3 separate regions of the Homo sapiens genome follow, and all the other regions are linked to region 3. Evidence: promoter capture Hi-C in human tissues and cell types (Jung and others, 2019). All regions are on one chromosome and are shown on one strand. Each heading gives the region's core, a stretch centred on a gene start or on the middle of the fragment in contact. The rest is flanking DNA. Distances are from core to core; before and after follow the strand shown. Region 1 holds the start of CCDC107 (coiled-coil domain containing 107). Region 2 holds the start of FAM219A (family with sequence similarity 219 member A). Region 3 holds the start of VCP (valosin containing protein).

Region 1 (2,700 bases), core at 118-2,617, 590 kb after region 3:
CCCAGTATGCAGAAAGGGAATGCAGCGGCATGTCAGGGAGAGTCAGTGTAATTTCAACTGTCTGGCTTACAGTAGTAGCTGCTCAAGTTAAAAAATCACTAGAGTCCGTCGGGGTGGCACGTGCCTGTAATGTCAACTACCCGGGAGGCTGAAGCGGGAGGATCCCAGGAGTTTAAGACCAGCCTGGGCAAGAGAGCGACCCGCCGTTCCAAAAAAAAAAAAATCACTAATAAGTAGGCACGGTTCTAACTTGAGTGATCCCATTTAATCATCATAGCTCTTGAAGTAAGTGCTTATCTTCATTCCTCAGAGTGGAAAGGAAGGCACGGAGAGAGAACTAAGTTTCACAAGGTCACCGCTCTTGAGTACAGGAGGCAGGATTCTAGCCCAAGCAGAGTCCATATGTTGTGTACCAGCTACACAGTGAATGGTGGCTACTATGGCGTTTGCCAAAGGGAGAGGGAGGTAGAAGAGGAGGCTGTTTCAGGAATGCTCCATATTTGGAGTAATGAGCACAAGGACTTCATAGCAAGGCCAAGAACAGCGTAAAGCTGCCCGCGCATGAAAAGCAGCCGCGTTGACCGGGCGCGGTGTCACGCCTGTAATCCCAGCACTTTGGGAGGGCGAGGTGGACTGATCGCTTGACACCAGGCGTTCGAGACCAGCCTGGGCAACAGGTGAAAATCCGTCTCTACAAAAAATACAAAAATTAGCCAGGCATGATGGCGTGCGCCTGCGGTCCCAACTACTTGGGAGCCTGAGGTGAGGCATCGCGTGAGCCCGGGGAGGTCGAGGCTGCAGTGAGCCGTGGTCTCGGGAACAAAAAACAGCCGCGCTGAGAATGAGCCCCGTGTGGTTGGTGCGCGGACACGCACTGCCTGCGTAACTAGAGGGAGCTGACGGATGACGCCCCCGCGCCACGCCGCTCAGCGGGATACGCTTCTTGGCGGACTTTGGAGTGGGAAGCGGGGAATGTCTACGTGCGTATGCACGTGGCACTCTCTGCCCGAGGTCCGGGGACTTTCCCCTAGGCGGAAAGGGGAGGAACAGAGTCCTCAGTGTGTAGCCTAGGATACAGGCCTTCAGCACGAACCACGTCCTCAGCTTCACAGAGTAGTATTTTATAGCCCTAAAGAAATTGTGTTTTATGATTAGGGTGAGAAAGTTGGTGGCGTGAGATTAAAAAAACCGTTTTCGGGCATAACTTTCTAAGACTATAGGCTTTCAGAGGCATTGTGGCTAGCAGAATAGCTAATAGACACGAAATGAACAAATACAGGAAAGCTAGAATGACACTATCTTATGCAAATATGGTCTGGCCCCGCCCTACGGGGAGTGGGCGTGGCCTCCCCGGAGCCGGCCGGCCTGCTCGCGTGCGCGTGCGCGTTGGGGCGGCCGGCCAATGCCGGACCGCTTCGGCACCGCCCGCCCGATCCCTCCACCCGTGGGCCGGCAATGGCGGGCGCAGTTTCGCTCTTGGGTGTGGTGGGGCTGCTGCTTGTGTCTGCGCTGTCCGGGGTCCTAGGAGACCGCGCCAATCCCGACCTCCGGGCACACCCAGGTACCAGCTAGGGCTGCTGGAGGAGGGCTGGGACTGCGCACGGGTCCCAGGCCCCAGCTCGGCTGACTCGCCTGTATCCTCCCTCCGCAGGGAACGCAGCCCACCCCGGCTCTGGAGCCACGGAACCCCGGCGGCGACCACCGCTCAAGGATCAACGCGAGCGGACCCGGGCCGGGTCGCTGCCTCTGGGGGCGCTGTACACCGCGGCCGTCGCGGCTTTTGTGCTGTACAAGTGTTTGCAGGTACGGGGCGGCCGGGGGTAGGGGTGCCCCTGCAGGTGCGGGACCGCCGGGCGTGGGGATCCCCTGAGCCCGAATCTCCCATGGGGGTGCCAGGGTACCAAGAACAAGACACAGCTTCCCTGTCTGTAAAATAAAGACAGTAGTCCGTTGGCCTTCCAATATTATGAGGTTATTTTGAGGATCCAGGGAGGTAACGGATGTGAAGAGCGTGTGGTGAACTGTAAATAATGACTATCACATTTAGTTCTCCTACAATCCAGTGAGGAGTAGTCACTTGCTCGAGGTCACCCAGCGCTGGCAACTGCTGGAGCTGGGATTTGAACCCAGCTAGCAGTGTCCATGCTACAAGAGTGGGGCCAGCCTTGGCACAGGAGGTTGATTGCTGCAGCCAGTGTTTCTAGAGTTCCAGATATGAAGTGGTCTCATGTTCTCCTTGGGAGGAGGCCCTGAAATGTAAGTTGACAGTACATTTTGAAAAACAGTACCTTCCAGGGCTGTGTCTTTAGCCGTGACCCTATTACGTACTTGCATTATAAAATAGAACCGATGGAACCAGTTTAGATATATGAAACTAGAAGAGATAGCTAATAATGACCCCAGGTAGATGTGACAGGCTAGGATGAATGACTGAATTTAATGATGAACTTTGAGAAGGATAGACTAGTAAATTCTGTTCTTGGACCTGAGTACAGTCTGGGAGAAACATAATGTAGCAGGAGGTCTTATGAAAGAGAGTTAGGCATTCCAGTTGACTGAGTTCACTGTGGGATGTGACAAGCCACTTCCCAAATCAGTGCTGGGAACATGGCACTGTGCTTCACCTGCCAATCAGAATGCCCCTGGAGAATTGTATTCTCCTCAGGGCATTGCTTTAAGAGCACTACGTGTTCAGGAAAC
Region 2 (2,861 bases), core at 211-2,710, 610 kb before region 3:
GAAATGGGGCATCCACACTTTCGGATTTGTAGCCCACCTTGCCTCCTTCCAATTCCAGCTCAGGCTCCAGGGGGATAAAGCGAACACAGCCTAGACATTCCCTCTCTTCCCCCCTCACTATACGAGCTGGCTAGGCCTCCACGTCTCCCACCCGGTTGCCTGACAGACAAGCGAGGTCAGGGAGCCCCCTGGGCGGTGGCCAGCAAGCATGGTCTCCCTTAGGCCTAGCCTCGGTGCACCCGAGTTGCCCTCCCCCTTCCATTCCCTCCGCGCCAGCAGCGATGACATCATTCCTCCCTGACTCCGGGACCGCGGACAGGCGGCAGGATCCGCGCCCAGCAAGGACTTCAGGCACGTAGGCCTAAGATGATGGGGGCTCTTCCCAACCAGTGCGCACAGGCAGCTCCAGCGCGACCCCACTTCCTCTCCCGTCGGTTCCCGAGCACTCTCATCTGCACCCCGATTCCCCATCTGGTCGCCGCGCACTCTCCTTCCCGGTTTAGATGCCCCCAGCCTGGTCTGCCTGCGCTCCCCACCGGAGAACGGAATTCCCAGGTTCTGCACCAACCACCTTCCCCCACTGGGTCCCTCGCCCCGGCCCAGCGTTCCTGTCCGTATATCCAGCGGACAGGCGGGCAAGCCCCTCCTCTTCTAAAAGCTGATTCCCAATCTCTCTTAGCCTGACGGCTCCCCCGCCCTAAGCATCACAGGCCTCTAGGACTAAACGCCTCCCCACCTCCCATCCCAGACCCCTGGGCCTGCCGCCGGCGGTGCCCCATGGCAGTTCCCTCGCCAGTCCCTGCTATGGGCCTCCACTAGCGGTGTGCACCTTTGTGCCCCCTCCGTTCCATCCGACGGTGCCCTGCTTCCACCGACGGTGCCCTCCGCCCTTACAGGTCCCTTTGCTCTCATCCAGCATATTCTCCCACGGTTTTCTTGTCCTGCAAGTCCCCGTCCCCCGGCAATACGTTTTCAGGGATCTCTTTGCCCCATCCGATGGCGCCCCTCCGCACGATCCCCCCGGCCTGATTCCCTCCCTCCCCCTCAAGCGACGCCCCCTCCGGCCTTGGCCTGCCCGCCGCCCGCCCCCTCACCAGCGGCTGCATCTCCGAGTGCGCGGTGGGCACCTGGAACCGGTCGATCTCCTCCATCATGGTGCCGGCGGGCGAGCGGGCCAGGGGCCGGGCGCGGCCGCGGACGCCGACAGGACCGCGCGGGGCGGCGGCCCCAGGAGCCCGGCGGGTGGTGCAGACTAGGCCTCCCCGGACCACTCGGGCGGGCAGGGGCCGGGCGGATGCAGGGGTGGGCGGGGGCGAGAGGTTCGCAGACTGGCTGAGGCCGGCGTGACTCCGTGGGCTTGCCTAGCACTACCGCGGCTGTGGCCGGGCCGAGCCGCAGGTCTTGCCTCGCCTCCTACTCCGCTGCCGCCTCCTGTCAGCAGCTCAGCCACTGCGGTGACTCGGCAACTCCACTTCCGGGTCCGGGACACCGCCCGGATCTTGCATTATTCATGAGGAGGCGGTGCCTGGGGACCCCAGCCCCACCCACATGCGGGAGTTCCGAATGCGCGCGGCCGCCCAGCTGTGATTCCTGAGGGGGCGGGGCTTAGTGGAGACTCGCTCGCCGCGCGCCCAACCCCGCCTCCTTTCCGGGCCGGCTGGGCGCGCCGAAGCGCCTGCGCCTTGGCTGCTGGTCGGTTGCTGGGTAACCGCGTCAGGGAGTTGGATTCTATCCTGCAAGGGCACGGGGACCCACAACGACGGCTGTCCCTAAAGAACCGTTGCGACTGGTAACTGAAGTGGAAGAGAGTCCAGATTTCTTGTGTGTGGTCAAGGAGACGGACAAACTTTTTGTCTTCAGACGAGGGAGCGTTTTGTAGGCTCTCCAGGGGTTGAGATGATTCCTGCTTCTGCGAAGGCTCCCCATAAACAGCCTCATAAGCAGGTAACGTACGCACACCTTCCTTCTGATGACCTCTGACCTTCGTCGTCGCCAGTGACCACTAATCATACCTCTCCTACTGATCCTTGATCTTTTCTCTGTTGACCCCAGCCTTCTCACCCCCGTGACCTCTGGTAAGTGCTCCCACTGACCTCTGACTCTGTCCTACTCTTTCCCACTAATCCCGGCCTCCTCTCCCATACTACCCCAATCCACCGTTTCTTACCTCTCTCCTTTTATCCACCATTCCCATCTCTTCACTTCACTTTACCCCATGGACTCATTCTGACCAGTCTATTCTCCTTAACTTCCCCATCCCCATTCCCACGAGTCCCTTCCTCCTTGTTCTCACATTCTTGTCCCAAAGGAATTTTTCTTTTTCTTTTTCTTTCTTTCTTTCTTTTTTTTTTTTTGAGACAGAGGCTCGCCCTGTAGCCCAGGCTAGAATGCAGTGGCGCCATCTCAGCTCTCTGTAACCTCTGCCTCCTGGGTGCAAGCGATTCTCCCACTTCAGCCTGACGAATAGCTGGAACCAAAGGCATAGGCCACCACGCCCGGCTAAATTTTGTGTTTTTGGTAGAGACGGGGTTTCCCCATGTTGCCCAGGCCCGTCTCTAACTCCTGAGCTCAAGCGATCCTCCTACCTTGACCTTCCGAAGTGCTGGGATTACAGGCGTGAGCCACGGCGCCCAGCCTCAAAGGCATTCTTTATCCAACCCTTTGCTGTGTGCCTAGCTCCAGGCTAGGTGGGAACACAGCTCTTGCTGTTTGGGAGCCCACAGAGGGTGTGCAAGAGAACTAAACAGAATACAGGACAGGCTATGTGCAGGAGTGTGATTTTATTTTCTGTGCTGGGAGATTTATGAGGAGAGAAAGGGCAGGCAAAGAGGAAGAGGAGAGAGGCCCTTTTCTCATCCCTG
Region 3 (2,700 bases), core at 162-2,661:
GAAAAAGGAACACACCTCAAAAAACTAATCTCTTCAAGGAAGGAAGGTAATTTGCATAGAGTTTCCTTGGGCTGGCTGTGTTTTTTTTTTTTTTTTTTTTTTTTTTTTTGCCTCTAAAAGCTCTCTATTCTAAATTGAATGGGCTGAGGTAGCCAAGTTTTATCTAACGCTTTCCTAAGGATGGAGGTGGGGTCAGAAAGCCCCAGAGCCCGGGTAATTTCTCAATATAGCTGGTTGGGGAAAGGAGTGCGCGCACGTTTGTGTTTTTGAAGAGTTAGTGCAACTCTAAACTGCACACCACGAAACCTGGAAATCTGGAAAGGCGCACAAAACACGAACTGAGATTCCAACTTTAGCAAGAACCTAAAATGTTAAAGAAAAATTCCTTTCTCCCCACCCACGAGTCATAACATTAAGGAAAACTGGCTCAAACTTTCTAGTATGAACAACAGGCCTAAAGTAAGAAGACCAGAAGCGAAAGGTAGGGCTCGCCCTCTCCCTAACAGTCCTTCACGACTCAGGTCACACACAGAGGATGCCCACCTCCGGCCCCGCCGACCCGGCTCCAAAAAGGCGGCTGTGAGCTTCCCTGAGCTCGGCGGGCCTTCCCCGACCCCGGGCTCCGCCTCGGTGGCAGAGCTCCTGAGGCCTTCACATGGCGCAAAGTCCACGCCCACCGGGCCCGGCTGGGGCCTCGGGCTCGCGGGGCCTGCTCTCTCCGGGGACCAAAGGCTTTCGGCGGGTGGTAGGCCGGACGGCAGACTGGCGCCCCAAAGCCCCGGGGCGCCGCGCCGGCGGAGTGGGCCGGAAGACCTGGCCAGGCCCAGACGTCCGTTCTAAGGGAGCCAATCGGGCGGGCCGGGGCCTGCATGACACAGCACGATCCGGCCCAGGCTCCGACCCGGACCCAACGCAAGCCCCGCCTAGGGGGCGCGCGGGTGCGCAGCTGGCCCCAGCCGGGCCTGCCGGGTCCACGGCCCCTCACTCGCCCCCTAGCTTCCCTTCCCTCTTTCCTGGTCTCCACCTCTCTGACGCGCCCACGGCCAGGCCCCGCCGGGCCTACCCTGCGCGGCTGGTCCCGGTGCGCGCCGCCGCAGCAAGCGAACGGCGCGCGCACACTCACTCGGCTCCAGAAGCCATGGCGCGCGCCTCTCCCGGCCGGCGGCTGTGGCGGCCCGCGGGTAACGGCTACGAGCGGTGGCAAGCGACCGACTGGGCCGGGGCTCGGCTCTTCCAGGCGGTGGGCGAGCAGCGGCGACAAACCCGCAAGCGGCTTCCCTCTCGCTTCCTCCCACCGGCAGCGAGGCGTCGGGCGAACAACGCTGGCTCCTGATCCGCGAGGTGGCAGTGGCAGTGGCAGCGGCAGCGGCAGCGACGACTCAAACGACGGTCGCAGACGCTTCGCTGAGACTGAGCCGAGAAGAGCCGAATCATCGGAAGGGAAGCTGCTCCCACCTCAGCCAATCAGCGCCTGCCCTGCGGACTCTCGCCCGCCTCTCCGCGCCTCTCCCCAGCAACCCGCAGATCACAGCCAATCAGGAAATTCGCTTGCGGCCTGGCTCCCGCCTCAGTGATGCGACACGCCTAGTAACGCCACGTCAATTGGCCGCAACGCTACGCTTCCTCGACGGATTGGAATTCTCAGCCAATCAACGAAAGGAATAGGGCGAGATCGATTAGTGAAAGGAGACCCTTTAATCCCTTAGAGGCGGACTCTCCCACTTGGCTCCAGTTCATTGGCTCCGGAGTTTATCCTCCTGGAAGAACGTGGCACAATAGACTGAACCCTTGTATTAGTCTAGTCCTATTGTGGTAACCCATACACCCATCTTCTCCCAAAACCTGGAGATCTTCTAAGACGCCATCACCACCCTGACACTTCTTGCTCCTTCTCAACGCTGCCTCCAACCACCCCTACTCTGAACTTTCTGACTAGCACCCCACTCCTACCCCATTGTCACTGCACCCTCTGGTAACCCCAATCCCACAGCCTTTGCAGTTTCTCAGCGCTTGTGCCTTTCTTCCTCCCGTCATTAATATTAATACCTTATAATAAGGCACTCAAATCCAGAGAAGTCAAAGGGCAACCACAGAACACACAGCCAATTCAGTAGAACCCAAATTAGCAAGAAAACTGCATATGCTGGGACTTGAAAATCCTTGGGCCCCAAATAACAGGGGTCCCTGTTAGTAGTCAACAGGCAGCTGTTGGTGATATGCTGACTCAATTCACCTTTCACCCTGTACCCACACAGACACATTTGACTAAGACGAGTCGAATTTCTAGAATTTGGAATTAGGAAGGGAGTGAAGAGTTACTCTGAGAGAAACCTGCCTGTCTCTAAGTAACAGGTACCTGCCCTTGTCCTGAGAGGCCTATCTAGACCACCCTTCAGACCCAACTCCACTCATTGTCACTGTCCTGGGCTTTGGGGCTCTGCATTCAGGCAATGTGAAGGACTAAAGCCACTGCCTCCAAAGTGAGGATTCCTGTAGCCCTTTCCTCATACCCAGACTTCAAGTTCATAAGGTAGACGATGTCAGGAAAGGGCATCATAGACAACTAGCACTCAACTAGACGGTCACAAGCCTTCCCACGCAAGTATATGTAGTAGGCAGACGAGATAAATATGAAATTTTACTCGACAACAGAAAAGGAGAAACAGGAAAAAAGGTGCCTCGAGCAAAGTCAATGACTTG

The links. The method cuts DNA at HindIII sites, captures the fragments that hold promoters and counts their contacts. A contact is called where the count stands out against the background at its distance.
Region 1: the fragment with the promoter of CCDC107 here is called in contact with the fragment with the promoter of VCP in region 3 in 1 of the 25 tissues and cell types used here (neural progenitor cells).
Region 2: a contact is called between the fragment with the promoter of FAM219A here and the fragment with the promoter of VCP in region 3, in 1 of the 25 tissues and cell types used here (spleen).

The regions. Positions count from the first base shown.
Region 1 is chr9:35,656,925-35,659,624 of GRCh38, forward strand. It overlaps CCDC107 (coiled-coil domain containing 107), which reads left to right and starts at 1,368. Exons shown (of 5, transcript NM_174923.3): 1 at 1,368-1,561; 2 at 1,652-1,803. The coding sequence starts at 1,456. It overlaps ARHGEF39 (Rho guanine nucleotide exchange factor 39), which reads right to left. Exons shown (of 9, transcript NM_032818.3): 9 at 2,419-2,700. It also overlaps RMRP. RefSeq lists enhancers at 132-640, 641-1,148 and a silencer at 1,231-1,490. The HindIII fragment of the contact is 10,595 bases long and covers 1-2,700 here.
Region 2 is chr9:34,457,110-34,459,970 of GRCh38, forward strand. It overlaps FAM219A (family with sequence similarity 219 member A), which reads right to left and starts at 1,461. Exons shown (of 6, transcript NM_001184940.2): 1 at 1,095-1,461. The coding sequence starts at 1,154. It overlaps DNAI1 (dynein axonemal intermediate chain 1), which reads left to right and starts at 1,696. Exons shown (of 20, transcript NM_012144.4): 1 at 1,696-1,944. The coding sequence starts at 1,897. RefSeq lists enhancers at 1-127, 1,259-1,799, 1,362-1,656, 1,753-1,822 and a silencer at 1,133-1,382. The HindIII fragment of the contact is 10,660 bases long and covers 1-2,861 here.
Region 3 is chr9:35,071,214-35,073,913 of GRCh38, forward strand. It overlaps VCP (valosin containing protein), which reads right to left and starts at 1,412. Exons shown (of 17, transcript NM_007126.5): 1 at 1,124-1,412. The coding sequence starts at 1,140. FANCG (FA complementation group G) reads right to left here. Exons shown (of 14, transcript NM_004629.2): 14 at 2,626-2,700. RefSeq lists a silencer at 490-1,119 and enhancers at 1,520-1,569, 1,770-1,909, 1,930-1,979. The HindIII fragment of the contact is 21,663 bases long and covers 1-2,700 here.